3 separate regions of the Homo sapiens genome follow, and all the other regions are linked to region 1. Evidence: promoter capture Hi-C in 16 types of primary human blood cells and fetal thymus (Javierre and others, 2016). All regions are on one chromosome and are shown on one strand. The core of a region is centred on a gene start or on the middle of the fragment in contact, and the rest is flanking DNA. Distances in the headings are between cores, read along the strand shown.

The links. The method cuts DNA at HindIII sites, captures the fragments that hold promoters and counts their contacts. A CHiCAGO score of 5 or more calls a contact.
Region 2: a contact is called between the fragment with the promoter of KRT6A here and the fragment with the promoter of KRT76 in region 1, in 2 of 17 cell types (total CD4 T cells and neutrophils). The highest score is 6.1, in total CD4 T cells.
Region 3: the fragment with the promoter of KRT6B here is called in contact with the fragment with the promoter of KRT76 in region 1 in 5 of 17 cell types (total CD8 T cells, megakaryocytes, endothelial precursors and 2 more); the score reaches 8.3 in total CD8 T cells.

Annotation. Positions count from the first base shown.
Region 1 is chr12:52,773,843-52,778,707 of GRCh38, forward strand. It overlaps KRT76 (keratin 76), which reads right to left and starts at 3,503. Exons shown (of 9, transcript NM_015848.4): 1 at 2,850-3,503; 2 at 1,546-1,760. The coding sequence starts at 3,449. The HindIII fragment of the contact is 4,392 bases long and covers 2,193-4,865 here.
Region 2 is chr12:52,491,847-52,496,408 of GRCh38, forward strand. KRT6A (keratin 6A) reads right to left here and starts at 1,411. Exons shown (of 9, transcript NM_005554.4): 1 at 803-1,411. The coding sequence starts at 1,342. The HindIII fragment of the contact is 6,361 bases long and covers 1-3,688 here.
Region 3 is chr12:52,450,123-52,454,893 of GRCh38, forward strand. KRT6B (keratin 6B) reads right to left here and starts at 2,024. Exons shown (of 9, transcript NM_005555.4): 1 at 1,417-2,024; 2 at 284-498. The coding sequence starts at 1,956. The HindIII fragment of the contact is 8,192 bases long and covers 1-3,007 here.

The DNA.
Region 1 (4,865 bases), core at 2,253-4,752:
TTTTTCTGAGACAAGGTTTCACCCTGTCACCTAGGCTGGAGTGCAGTGGCACAAACATGGCTCACTGTGGCCTCAACCCCTCAGGCTCAAGCAATCCTCCTGCCTCAGACTCCCAAATAGCTGGGACTGGAGGCATGCACCACCACGTCCAGCCAATTTTTTAATTTTTAGTAGAGACAAGGTCTCACTTTGTTGCCCAGGCTGGTCTCGAACTGTTGGGCTCAAGTGATTCTCCCTCCTCAGCCTCCCAAAGTACTGGGATTACAGGCATGATTGAAATTCTTAATAATTTTGTAACTAGGTTCCTGCATTATCATTTTGCACTGAGGCCTGAAAATCACGTAGCTGGTCCTGTCCAGAGACCTCTCAGAGCTCAGGGCACTGCCTGGCCCTCTTCCCTCTAAATGCAGTGATGGGCAGAGGTATGGGCAGTCAGTGAGAGGGCAAACTTCAAGGAGCCTGACCACTTGCCTAGGCTCTTTGATTGACTTTGCAAAGCACAATGTGTGCATATGGAACCCAGTGAAATGTGTGCTCTCATTGGGCATTTCTGCCTATTTCCTCAGTTTCTGTTTTCCTTCATTACAGTTACTTCTTATAGGAATTTCAGTTAAGAAAGAATTCATACCTTCTGAATGCATCAAAGTTGTGGGATTCCTGCCTGTTAAGGACTAAAATCTACTACCAAGAGTTTGTATTTCATAAAGCTTGAGGAATTGGACTGATTCTAGGAGAAAAGAGGTCTCTAGGCAGGACCTCTTTTTTTCCTCTAGGAGAAAAGAGGTCTCTGGGATCTCTTTTGGGAATATGAATCTGAGTTGCCACTGAATTCCCAGAGCCCAGCACAGAGCCTGCCACAGAGTGGGTGCCCACCACGTTTGTGTGGTTGAATTGGAATAGGGCCTCTGCAGAGCAGGTGTGCCCGTCCCTGTGGGTTCTGATCCCTGGGGAAGTCGGGAGCTCCCTCCCACCTTGAGAGGCCCAGTTTGCTCCTTGCAGACCTCAGCGGATATGGACTGCAACTTGGAACGTGGAGGAGGAGGCAAACCAAAGCTGCAGAACAGGAGATTGGACGGGACACACTGATAAAGGCCTTTACCAAGTGCAGCCCTGGACCTCTGCCTAGAATCCCCAGGAGCTAGGGGAACACTCACACTCCTGGGGCCTGTCCACACCTATGATTCAGAATACCTAAGACTGGAATACAGGAATACGCATTGTTGACAAGCATCCAAGGTGATTCCTGTGTCCAGTCAAGTGTGGCGGACTCCCCATCCTAAAGGATTCTAAACTCTGGGAGGACTCTTTTGTCCCTCTGGGCTGGAATAGGAGGGGGCCCATCTGGAGCCTGAAATCTGTGTCATAGCCACATGGGAGTCTCAGTCCCCACCCTTTCACCCCCTTCTGCTTTGTCATGTTTCACTCAATAAATCCATCCCAGAGTATTGACTGAAGGCACAGTTGGGAACAGTTGAAATCCCAAATTAGGACCACACCTCCCTGCTAATTCCCCAGAAGGGGAAACTTCCCAGGAGGAGCCCTCACTTCTTTTTGAAGTCTTCCACCAGGTCCTGCATGCTTTTCAGCTCTCCCTCCAGGTTCCCCCTCTCCCCTAGAAGTGAATCTAGCTGCTTGCATAGGAAGCTGATGTAGGATTCAAAACAAGGCTCCAGGCTGCTGGGCCCTGAGCCTGTGGTCTGCTGCTGGAGCAGTTCCCACTTGGTCTCCAGGACCTTGTTCTGCTGTTCCAGGAACCGCACCTGCATGAAAGAGGGGAGAAAAGGAGTCAGCCCCTTGAGTTGGGCATGTGGGGCTGCCCATCCCAAATGTAGAACTGTGGAGAAGGAACCCAGTTCTTCAATCTACAATTTCCCCTGTTTTTTAATTTGGGAAGGATGAAGATTTAGCAAAGGGAGAGCTAGAATTTGTTGAGTGATTATGCCTTACCTGTTATTTTCATGTATTTCCGTCACATTTAATCCTCACAACCACCTATAAAGGAGTTGCTGTGATCCCCATTTTGTAGATAAGGAAACTGAGACTCAAAGAGTTTAAGTTTCCCAAAGTGACAAGTCTACTGAGTGACAAAGCTAAGAATCAAACCCAGGACTGTCCTGGGTCTATAGGGATCCTTCAGAATACCACTGAAGGAGGTAAGCACAAATAAAGTTTGTCATTGTTTTTTAGATGTAAGCTTTTTTCAGCTCCATAAAGGCAGTGAATACAGTCAATGAGGTCTAACATTTCTTTAGAAGTTTCACATAGGAAGACCTCCTTTCAGTTATTCAGCTTGCAGCTGAACTAGAATTCACTTCAGATCCTGGGCTCAGTCCCACACAGACCCAGAACACCCTCCTCTGCCCCAGCATGGACAGCTCAGTTTAATTATTGGCTGAAGCACAGCATCATCTGGAAGGTAAGGCAGCTGCCAATGCACCTCATTTAGATGCAGCCTCAAGATCTGTGCTAACACAAGGTTTTGATTACCAGCTACTTTGGATTATCAAGCAATTGCTTTTCAGGAGAAATTAAAGTAACTGCAATAATTTCATGACTAAAATGGCTCATTCTTCAAAAAGCTAAGAGCATGTTTGGACCCCCACTTCATTTACCCTCATCTCATTCTTAGCAGGAAACCAGGACCAGGAATTCTTCCCCCCATTTCACAGCTGGAAAAAGAAGGCCCAAAAAGTGAAAGGGGCATGATCACTGTCCTGTAGGGACCAAGACAGCACCAGGACAAGAGCCAAGCGCCCCTGCCCTGTGTCTCACAAGTCCCCATGGCATCTTTCTACACCGACCCCTGGGCACCCCAAACCCTCCACAGCACCTCTTGGCCTTGCCCTCACCTTGTCGATGAAGGAGGCAAACTTGTTGTTGAGGGTCTTGATCTGTTCCCGCTCCTGGGCCTTTACTTGCCCAATCTGGGGGTCGATCTCCACATTGAGGGGCTGCAGGAGACTCTGGTTTACAATCACTTCCTGAATTCCCCCAGGAAAGCCCCCAGGGCCAAAGCCACCAGGACCACCAAAGCTGCCAGGCCCACCAAATACACCAGGACCACCAAAGCCACCAGCTCCACCAAAGCCACCAGCCCCTCCAAAACCACTACCTACTCCTCTGCCACCACCAAAGCCACCACCATAGCTGCCCCCAAAGCCACCTCCATAGCCACCTGCAAAGCCACAGCTGCTCCGCCCTCCCCCAAAGCCTCCAGCCCGGGAGCTGCCAGCTGCCACGCTGATGGAGATGCTCTTGTTGCTGCCCAGGTTGTAGAGGCTGCGACTGCCAAAGCTGCCTGCTCCGCTCCTGAAGCCACAGGCCCCTCCACCAGCTCCCCCAGAGCGGGCCACACAGCTCATCCTGCTGCTGCCGGAGACCACAGCAGAGCGGCCAGAGAAACCCTGGCTCCTGCCACTGAAGGATTTCTTGCAAACTTGTCTGTTCATAGTGAGAGAGCTTGGAGGCAAGCTAGTGATCACTTAGCAAGAGCTGAGAGGGATAGGGACAAGAGAGGAGACTGGCCTTTATATAACAGGGAGTTTGGCTTGGCAAAAGGAGAGGCGAGCAATTAGTTGAGAATCATCTTGGGTTTGGTTTGCCTCGTAGGCATTAAGTTACTTCTTGGTTCCCAACACACCTCAGAGATAATCCTCTGGGCCAGAGTGGCTTTGCTTTCTTAGCTTAATCACCTAAACTTGCCTCAGTTGACAAAATGCTGGAGCTCTCCTCCCTCCCTTTTTGTGCTGTCCTCAAGGGTTTCAGGGAACCCAAGCAGCACCTGATCCAGCAGGAGGAAGCAGCTTTAGACACCAGGTGATCCGGAGCCATGAGCTCCCTGACACAGGGGGGTGAGGACCAGGCAACCTCTTCTGAGTGGGCTGGGTCCCTCCCTGCAGCACCACAGTGTCCACAGGCTCCCACAGTGGCTGCGCCCGTCTCTGCCATCATTAGGCCTTTTCTTCCAGTGGCATGTCACCTGTTCCCAACTCTTCAGAGGGCCTGGAGTGGGAGCGGAAGTGAGAGGGGCCCAGACCCATAGAGTCTGCTCTGCCAGCACCTCAGCCAAAGGCATCCATCTCAGCAAACCTGGAGTTTGGGCTGAGAAATGCTACTTATGGGGAAGAAATTACAGTGGAGGTAAACACGTCTAGCTCCTGGAACAGGGAGCAAACAAGTATGAGGTTTGGGAAGAAGAGGGGGCATGCACTGTGGAGAGCCTCAGACCAAGCCCTCCCCCCACCATCCTAGACTGACAGCAGGCAATTTCTGGACCCAGAAGCAAGAGGAGACAGAATCTGGTAACCCTCCAGCTGGCTGGTAGAGTCGGCTCAAGCACCCCATTCATCTTAGGAGGACAGTGTATCTTGTGTCTAGGCCCCAACTCAGATCTTCTGGAGGGGATCCCCTCCCTGCTTTACCCCCTGGTCTGGGTCAGATGCCCCTCCTTGTCTTCCCACCATACCCTGTACTTTTCCCATCGTGAACCTGACATAAAGTATACTTACCTGCTTACTTGTCCATACCCCTCCGGTCCCTGAGCTTCTTGAGGGCAAGGCTTGAGTCCTGCCCATTCTAAATTATCCTAAATGTCCAGCTCCTAGCATAGGGTAAGCACAGCACAAACGTGTTAACTGACTGATGACTGATGTCTAAGAATGCAAATACCTAAAACCAGCTCCCACCCCAGCCCTATGAATGAAAATCTTCAGAGGAAAGGGTTGAGAGTTTGCATTTTTAACAAGCCCTCCAGGTCATTCTTATAATGCGGAAAGTCTGGGAAACCCTGGTCTAGACCATGGCTACACCATATGGGCCAGGAATAGGAGGATGGAGGACCCCTGATGGCAGAACGAATGACACAT
Region 2 (4,562 bases), core at 161-2,660, 280 kb before region 1:
GTGCATGTAGAGAGGCTCAGGCTGAGCTCTGCTCCCCCAACCCCTTCTCCTTTGTACCCCACCAATCTCACTAGAGGAATTGTCCCACGGACCATTCAGGTGTTCTCACTCTCTAAGTTATTGGACATATTAATGAGTTTCAACATGTCTTTTCCTTCTTTTCCCAGCCAAAATTACAAACATAGTTATAAAATAGTATTCATCTGATAAATTTTACACAGTTTTTATTACTGATAGGACCTCAGTTAGAAGAGATGTTAAATGTTGCCCAATGATTTGATTCCCGTCTTATTTCCCATTTGTGCAAGTCTCTCCTCTAAAACATCCTGATGTTATGGTCATTCTTTGTTTTGAGGATTAATTAACATTTCCACATAACGTATAAACGTTTTAAGTCTTTTTTTTCTTAATCTAGCCAAAATATCCTTTCTTTTGTTTCCAATATTTTTTCCTCTTATCCAGACCCCAGAGTGTAATTTACCAGCCCGTGTACTCCTGGCATTTTCTTTGACGCTTCAAAGGGAAGAGTTAACCTACTCCATTCTCTGATGGCCTCATCTGTGCTTCAGGGTTATGAAAAGTTATGGTTCTCCCTAGGCAGGAGTGAGGGCCACTCCAGAGATCCCATGGGGGAGTGATGCCCATCCCTGCTGCTTGCTGGGCACCAGCAGCCATCTGCACTCTCTGCAGAGCTGGGCTGAGTCCTCTTCTCCCTCCCTCCTAGGTCTCCCTGGCAGGAAGGTGTTGCTCCTCTGGTCTGGGGACCCTGAAGTGCCCCATGGAGGGCATGGCACTGGCTCACCTTGTCGATGAAGGAGGCAAACTTGTTGTTGAGGGTCTTGATCTGTTCACGCTCCTCAGCCCGCACCCGCTGGATGGTGGGATCGATTTGCAGGTTGAGGGGAGTCAGGAGACTCTGGTTGACGGTGACCTCTTGGATGCCTCCAGGGGGGCACACAGGGAAGCCAGGGCCCCCAAAGCCACCAGCAAGGCCGGCTCCACCACCCAGACCAAAGCCAATGCCGGCTCCACCACCGAAACCAAATCCACTCCCGGCGCCACCAAAGCCATAGCTGCCTCCGGCTCTGCTGCCATAGCCGCCACTGATGGCACAGCTGCCCCCTCCAATGGAGATCCTCTTGGAGCCCCCCAGGCCATACAGACTGCGGCTGCCAAAGCCAGCTCCTCCACATGCACCACCCAGGCCACCACTGCCCCTGGAGCGGGACACGGAGACGCTGCTGAAGCCAGAGCGGCTGACCCCAGGGAGCCTGGCTGAGTTGGCACTGAAACCCCGGCGGCTGCTGCTGTGGCTCCTGATGGTGGTGGATGTGCTGGCCATGGTTCCAGGAGATGAGAGAGCTGAGGAGAGTGTGAGAGGCTGGAGGAGAGAGGGAAGAGAAGCAGGACTAGGAATCAGGCTCGGGGCAGCAGCTTATATATGGAGAGCATGGGCTGGGCCCAGTCCTGGAAGGTGAGCTTGCAGGTTGGGAAGGGCTGGGCTTTACCAACAGTGAGATCACACCCAGTTTCTAGAAAGGTATGAAATATGAAGATTGCTTTTTGGCTTCCTTTAGTCATAGAGAAATTCTCCTGCCTTCCAGCCTTGACTTGATCCTAACACAATAAGCCCGGGTATACATTCACTGAAGTCATGAGTTAGTCATGTCCTCAAACAAAGGAGACAAGGAGCTGATCTGTGATAATTGTCCCCTCCTTCTTCTTCATCAGACACTCCCTGTGTGCCCCCTTCCCACACAGGTTTTCTACTCCACTTGCACCAGCCTCACCCTCTGAGTGGGATCCTTCCTGAGGGCGTATGGGCATTTGCCCGATGGCCTGAGCAAGAAGTAGCCTGTTGTGTTTTTTCCACTGCATTTGGACCAGTTCTTCTGGAGCTCCTGGCTGTCCTCCCTTGTGTCCTGGACATAGGAACGGGGTCTGCTTTGGGGATCTAACCCTCCTTTGTCAGGCAAGAGGGACAGAGGAGTTGAGTCTTTACACTGTAGGAGCAACATTTGTTCTGTGTACTGTGTGATCACCTGCCCACATGCCGTTTACCTAAAATGAAGGGAGCAGACATTGCCCAGGGTGCTCAGAGACCTGACTTCTGCCAGGAGTTTCTTTCCATATCTGCACCTCTCTCTCCAGTGCTTGCTTTCCTATTGAGCTTAGTCTCATGTAAATCTGCCTTTCCAGTTGAAATTTATAGACACCTTCTCCCTGCTGTTTTGGAGCATTTACATAGAGCTTAATTTAAACAACGGAAAATGAGTGATATAAAAATCATTAAGGAATTCACTGGATTTTTATTCCCACAGATTTTGACATTTCTTAAGAATCAAGAGTCAGACAGTTTAATTGGGTGTGTAGGGAAAGTCAAGGGGCATATGGAAGCTGTGAATCATAAAATTGTGCCCTTACAAGTGTGATGATGTAACATGTCAATTCCACATTTTAATTTCTGATCTCAGTGCTTGAAATCTCAAATCCATATACACCTTCTGGGAGGGTGGGCAGGCTGACAAAGGTGAGTGTGCTTGGTTTACAGAGGAATGAGCTTCACTTCTCCAGTCCATGCATTAAGCACTGTGCATGAGGAGAATGGAGAGCAATCCTGGGCAATATTGTTCTGTGAGAACCTATGGATAAATGAGCAACCGCAGGAGGAAGAACAAACTCCCATGCTAAGAAGAGCCTCAGGAAAGCTCTTGTTACTATTTTAAAAGCAGTCCCATTTCTCCAACATTTGGAGGGGGGGACACAGCATCCAGGAGAACAGGGTGTTCCCTGTCTAAAGGAGGTGCTAACTCAGCGTCTGGCAAGAACGAGATACCTTCTCAAGACAACGGAAGCAGCTCCCCTCCCTCCACCCTGGTTGCACAATGGTTGACCAAGAATGTGCTTCCACCCAGTTCTGGGAAAGAAGTGTTCCTTCTGGTATGTGCTCCGACCCACTCTACTCTCTTGGGATAGAGGCTTTAGGCTTGGCATGAATGATGCTAGGATGGGTAAGAAGGGTTGGCAATTCAGGTGGGAGCTATATGCATTTACCCAGTGTCCTATGTCTGTGTCAATGTCCAATGTCCACGGCTGCTTTCACACTACAAAGACAGAGCTGAGTAGTTACAACAGAGATTGTATGCCCTGCAAAGCCTAAAATAGTCACTATTTGTCCCTTTAAAGAAAACATTTGCCAACCCCTGGTTAAGAGCATGGACTTTGGAGACAGAGGGCTCAGGTTCATGACCAAGCACCTGGGTGTCCCTCTGCACTTTCTTAAACCCTTTGTGCCTTGTTTTTACACCTGTAAACTGGGAGTGAACATAGCACCGGCCTCAAAGTGCTATTGTGAGGCTTCAGTGAGATAATTAATTGAAGGTCTTAGCAAGGCATCTGGCATATAATTTCTCACCGAAGGTAAGCTAATATTATCATAGGAAAGTATGAAGACATTTTGTATGTAGAGGCCCACAAGAAGCGTCAAGAACAGGGACACAAGTGCAGGGTATGTGTGTGGGGGAGGAGGGTGGTTCAGAGACCGGTAAGAGAAATGAAACCAACATTGCAGGCTTGTGCCACATTAGTAAGGACTTAGGAAGCCATGTATAGAGGTTTGCCCTGCTCCCAGATGCCACACAGAGCCGCAGAAGGCAGAAGAGCAACAGGATCAGAAGAGCAATTTGCAAGCTTGCAGCCACTCTGCTGAGCAGCAGCATGGGGCAGACAGAGCTCCGCCCAGTGGGGGAGGCAGCATGTTGTCTGAGTGATTGGAAGGAAAGGTGGTTGGAGAGAGGATCCAACCTCTGAGTTCTTGGCAGGAGCCCAGAAGACTGCTCTCCCTCTTATGGAGTCAGGTTCCCCTGCCCATCCTCTGCTGGGTCTCAGGCTGTTCTCTGGGGTACACACACAGGGGCAGCTGCTATTAACCAGCAGTGCCAACTGCATCAGTTCCTTTTTCACTAATGAGTTCCTGTCTTTTTAAGTGTGGGGGTGAACTCATCCCTGAATAAAATATGTAATGTAATTCATTTAGTCTATCAGAGGATGGTTTAACTTCAACATCTTATTCAATCTAGGCTTGGTGTGTGCATCAGACAGCACCAGCAATATAAAGTGCCATGTTTAATTTCCTGACACCAGTGTATCTCCTTTTGCTAAATTTATATGACATTCTCTTATATATCTACTAAGAGGTTTTTTAAAAAAATTCCCATTCCCAGCTGCCAGGCATGCTCTGGGAACCAAGTCCAGTGACCCCATAGAGTGAGGTCAGCTGGGAGGACTCATGAGAGGTGATGAAGGGCTTCTAAGACAGTGGAGGGGGAGTTAGAGAGGAGGGAATCCTGCTGCTGCCGGAAGATCTATTTCTGATTCCACTTCTTCCCAGGCCCCACCACCACTAAAAGGGGAAGTTTGCACCTGGCTCATTTGCCATTGATTGTCTATGTCTTTCTTTGTCCTGGTGTGGGAGGTGCCTGTTGTTCCTGGCCTGCTTTCAGACAGCTGCCCTAGGCTGGGCCCTGTTCTTTTCTCTCCTGTGAGTCCAGCCCTCTCTGCCT
Region 3 (4,771 bases), core at 774-3,273, 330 kb before region 1:
CAGAAAAGCAGCTTGGGATTCAACATTTTCCTGAATGGAATATATTCTAATTGAGCTTTCCTGCCACAGAGAGCCAAAGAGATGAATTTTGCTACTACTAAATTTGCCATTTCTTTAATCTCCCCATCCTCCCATAACCATCTGTGGTTCTTGCAGGTTTGCTCCTAGGGACTAATTTGTGCTTTTCATTTCCATGGACATGGGTTGTTAGGAATCCTACACACATCTGGCCCTGGTCACCCAATAGTCTTGAAGTGTGTGCTGCAGGAAATGGAGTCCTCACTTGTTCTTGAGGTCCTCCACCAGGTCCTGCATGTTTCTCAGCTCCGAGTCCAGACGACCCCGTTCCCCCACGATGTTGTCCAGCTGCCTCCTGAGGTTGTTGATGTACTGCTCGAACAACGGCTCCAGGTTCTGCCTCACAGTCTTGGTGCCCTGCTCCTGCAGCAGGGTCCACTTGGTGTCCAGAACCTTGTTCTGCTGCTCTAGGAACCGCACCTGGAGGGGAAGCAAAATGGTCATTTTCCAGGAAAAGGAAGGCAGAGAAAGTGTCTGGTATCCAGTTTCCTGGAGGTCTGGGAGGTCCCCATGGTGCTGGGCTACTACAGTGCATGTAGAGAGGCTCAGGCTGAGCTCTGCTCCCCCAACTCCTTCTCCTTTGCACCCCACCAGTCTCACTAGAGAAATTGTCCCACGGACCACTGAGGTGTTCTCGCACTGTAAGCTATTGATCATCAGTGAGTTTCAACATTTCTTCTTTTCTTTTTCCAAGCACAATCACAAATCTAGTTTAAAAATACTAATTACCTGATATATTGTACACAGTTTTTTTTACCGAGAGGATCTTAGTTAGGAGGGATATTAGATGTTGACTCATGATTACATTTCAGTCTACTTTCCCATTTAGTGTCTCCTCTCAAATATTCTGATGTTATGGTCATTCTCTGTTTTTAAAATTAATTAGCATTTATCCATGTTTTACAGTTGTTTCTATGTCCCTTTTTTTCTTAATCCAGCCAGATTATCTTTTCCTTTTCTTTCTAAATCTTTTTCCTCTTACCCAGACCCCAGAGTGTAATTTACCAGCCCATATACTCCTGGCATTTGCTTTGTAATCTCTTAAACACTTCAGAGGGGAGAATTAACCTACTCCACTCTCTGATGGCCTCATCTGTGCTTCAGGGTTATGAAAAGTTATGGCTCTCCCTAGGCAGGAGTGAGGGCCACTCCAGATATCCCATGGGGGAGTGATGCCCATCTGTGCTGCCTCCTGTGCACCGAGAGCCACCTGCACTCTCTGCAGAGCTGGGCTGAGTCCCCTTCTCCCTCCCTCCTAGGGTCTCTCCGGCAGGAAGGTGTTGCTCTTCTGGTCTGGGGACCCTGAAGTGCCCGATGGAGGGCATGGCACTGGCTCACCTTGTCGATGAAGGAGGCAAACTTGTTGTTGAGGGTCTTGATCTGCTCACGCTCCTCGGCCCGCACCCGCTGGATGGCGGGGTCAATTTGCAGGTTGAGGGGAGTCAGGAGACTCTGGTTGACAGTGACCTCTTGGATGCCTCCAGGGGGGCACACAGGGAAGCCAGGGCCCCCAAAGCCACCAGCAAGGCCGGCTCCACCACCCAGACCAAAGCCAATGCCGGCTCCACCACCGAAACCAAATCCACTCCCGGCGCCACCAAAGCCATAGCTGCCTCCGGCTCTGCTGCCATAGCCGCCACTGATGGCACAGCTGCCCCCTCCAATGGAGATCCTCTTGGAGCCCCCCAGGCCATACAGACTGCGGCTGCCAAAGCCAGCTCCTCCACATGCGCCACCCAGGCCACCACTGCCCCTGGAGCGGGACACGGAGATGCTGCTGAAGCCAGAGCGGCTGACCCCAGGGAGCCTGGCTGAGTTGGCACTGAAACCCCGGCGGCTGCTGCTGTGGCTCCTGATGGTGGTGGATGTGCTGGCCATGGTTCCAGGAGATGAGAGGGCTTAGGAGAGTGTGAGAGGCTGGAGGCGAGAGGGAGGAGAAGCAGGACGAGGAATCGGACTCCAGTAGCAGCTTATATATGGAGAGCATGGGCTGGGCCCAGTCCTGGAAGGTGAGCTTGCAGGTTGGGAAGGGCTGGGCTTTACAAATAGTGAGATCACACCTGCATTATTACAAAAGTTATGAAATACCGAGATTGCATTTTTCGCTTCCTTTAGTCAGGCAAAATGTTCCTGCCTCCAGCTTTGACTTGAGATCTCAGCACAATAAGAGTATTCTCAATTCATGAAGTTGGAATTAGTCACTGTCTTCAGCAAAGGTTCTGCATGCTAGGCTGTTTATCGACATGCCCTGAGTGCCCTCCTCTTCCCAGTCTGACTTTCTTCCAGCCTTGCTGTTGGAGATCACAGGCACTGTATTGTGAATTCCTTAACAGAAATATTACAATTTCCCCATAATTGTTTCACCTTTTAGGTGCAATTTTAAACAGGTAGAGAAGCAGAACACTGCAATGGGCCTGTATATACCTGTCACCTGCTTCCATGATGATCATCTCATGGCCAGCCTGATTTCTTTCATACTTCAACCCTATTTCCTCTTCCATTCTAGATTGTTTGAAAGGAAATTCCAGAAGTCATATTATGTCTTCAATCAATAATTCAATATTAATATCTAAATAATAGGTCCTTTAAAAAATCAAAACACTATTTTTATATCTTAAAAATTTACATACTAATTAAAATGAACAAGTGTCTATTTAGTCTTCAAGCAGTCCTATTTTTGATATATATTTCTTATATTTTGGTGTCCCAATCAGAGTCAAAATAAGCTCTATAAACGTTGTATTTGAGTGATATATCCTTTAAATCATTGAAATTTAAAAATCTCCCTTCATTTCTTACTTTTATTTGTTAAATAAAACAGGTTAACTGTTCATTGTACTTTTTCATTCTTGGGATTTTTCTAATTGCATACCCCTATTGTTTCCTTTAATATGAGACTCTAACCTTCATATTTCATATTAAAATTAGAAGCTTATTAAGATTCTGTCTATATTTAAACATTCTAGAAGTAAATGTAGTAGATTGCCCATTTAAATTTTGAATAGTACTATTTGCACAATTATTTACATGTTTACAAATTGAATACATGATACATGTTTTAAAAAATTTTTTGTAAAACATGCTAAACAACAAAATAATATAGCTCAAGGCCATTCCCCAGTTACCCAATTCCTATCTATGGAGGAAGTAATGTTAGCAGTTCCTTGTGTATCCTTGTATCTTTACTTGGATATTTTCCTGTGCTTTTCCTGGGCCATGGGTGACATGTCTGTGCATATGTGTTTGTGTCAACGTGTGTTTGTATGGGTGAGGAAGAGGTGGAGGGAGTTGGCATATATAGAGAGGGAGCCTGCATTGTAGAAAGGTATATAAATAAATACATGAATGTTTTGTGTGTATGTGTTTGAGTGTGTTTTATGTATATAAAATATTTCATGTATTCATATGTACAAAACATAAAAATATTGTCTTTTTCAATTGTGATTGTGTTGTGTCTGCTTTGTCTCCCACATCTATGTTTTCTGATTCTCTTTTTAACAGTCTCTAGTCTCTTTTTCATAGCTGTTTGCTTTTCCCAGTTATTCGAGGACATTTCTCCCAAATGTCCATTACTGTCTGTTTACCAATGTCTTTCCTCCTTATGCCGCTTTCAATTTGGGCTTCATTTCTTTTTTCTTTTCTTTTTTTTTTTTACACAGAGTCTTGCTCTGTCACCCAGGCTGGAGTGCAATGGCATGATCTCGGCTCACTGCAACCTCCGCCTCCCAGGTTCAAGTGATTCTCATGCCTCAGCCTCCCAAGTAGCTGGGACTACAGGTACCTGCCACCATGCCCGGCTAATTTTTGTATTTTTAGGAGAGATGGGGTTTTAGCATGTTGGCCGGGCTGATCTTGAACTCCTGACCTCGTGATCCACCCGCGTTGGCCTCCCAAAGTGCTGGGATTACAGGCGTGAGCCACCGCACCTGGCCAATTTGACCTTCATTTCTAAGCAGGACTTTGTTGTTATCTCTACCCCTTTTCTGTGCTCCACAAATGAATATTTTATCTTTTACCTGTCTCACTATATTTTGTCTTCTTTTTCCCACTTTATAGTGTTTATTTTTTAGTATTTTATTGTGCCTTTTTCTGTTGAGAGTTTTTATGAGTCTTTTTTTTTTTTTTGCCTATTTTTTTCAATTTTGAATGCACAGACCTTTTCTGAGTCCTGGCATGGTTCCTTTCTGACTAGTGCTTATTTTTAATGAGATGAGCCCCCTCTGGACCTGCGGTTTGTAGAAAGTATTATGGGTGGATGAGCCAGGGCCATATCCAGGCTAACAGGAGTTCTGATTGTGACACAGGGCTGTGTGAATAGTTCTTTTATTCTTTCATTCAGCCAAACCAATAAAGATCACTGCAGAGTGGCTCACAATTTACAGCCTCTTTGTTTTCTTTGCCTCACAATAAAATGCTACTAGTTGACCTTGTCTCTCTTCTTATTCAAATTTGCCTTCATAGTTTCTTGAAACTTCATGACAAGCAGGGTCCTGGCTCGTGCTCACACACCCAGTTGTGATAGTTGCAAATAAGGGATTCTTGGATTTTCACAGGAGGACATGCCCTTTACATTGATTTAGTTGAGGAAAATGAGTCAACTGTGCCTGGCATGTAGTAAAACCTCACTGTTAGGCTGTGTTTGGTTTTCCTTTGTGGTTACTGTGTTGTTTGATTTTGATCTGTTTATTTGTGA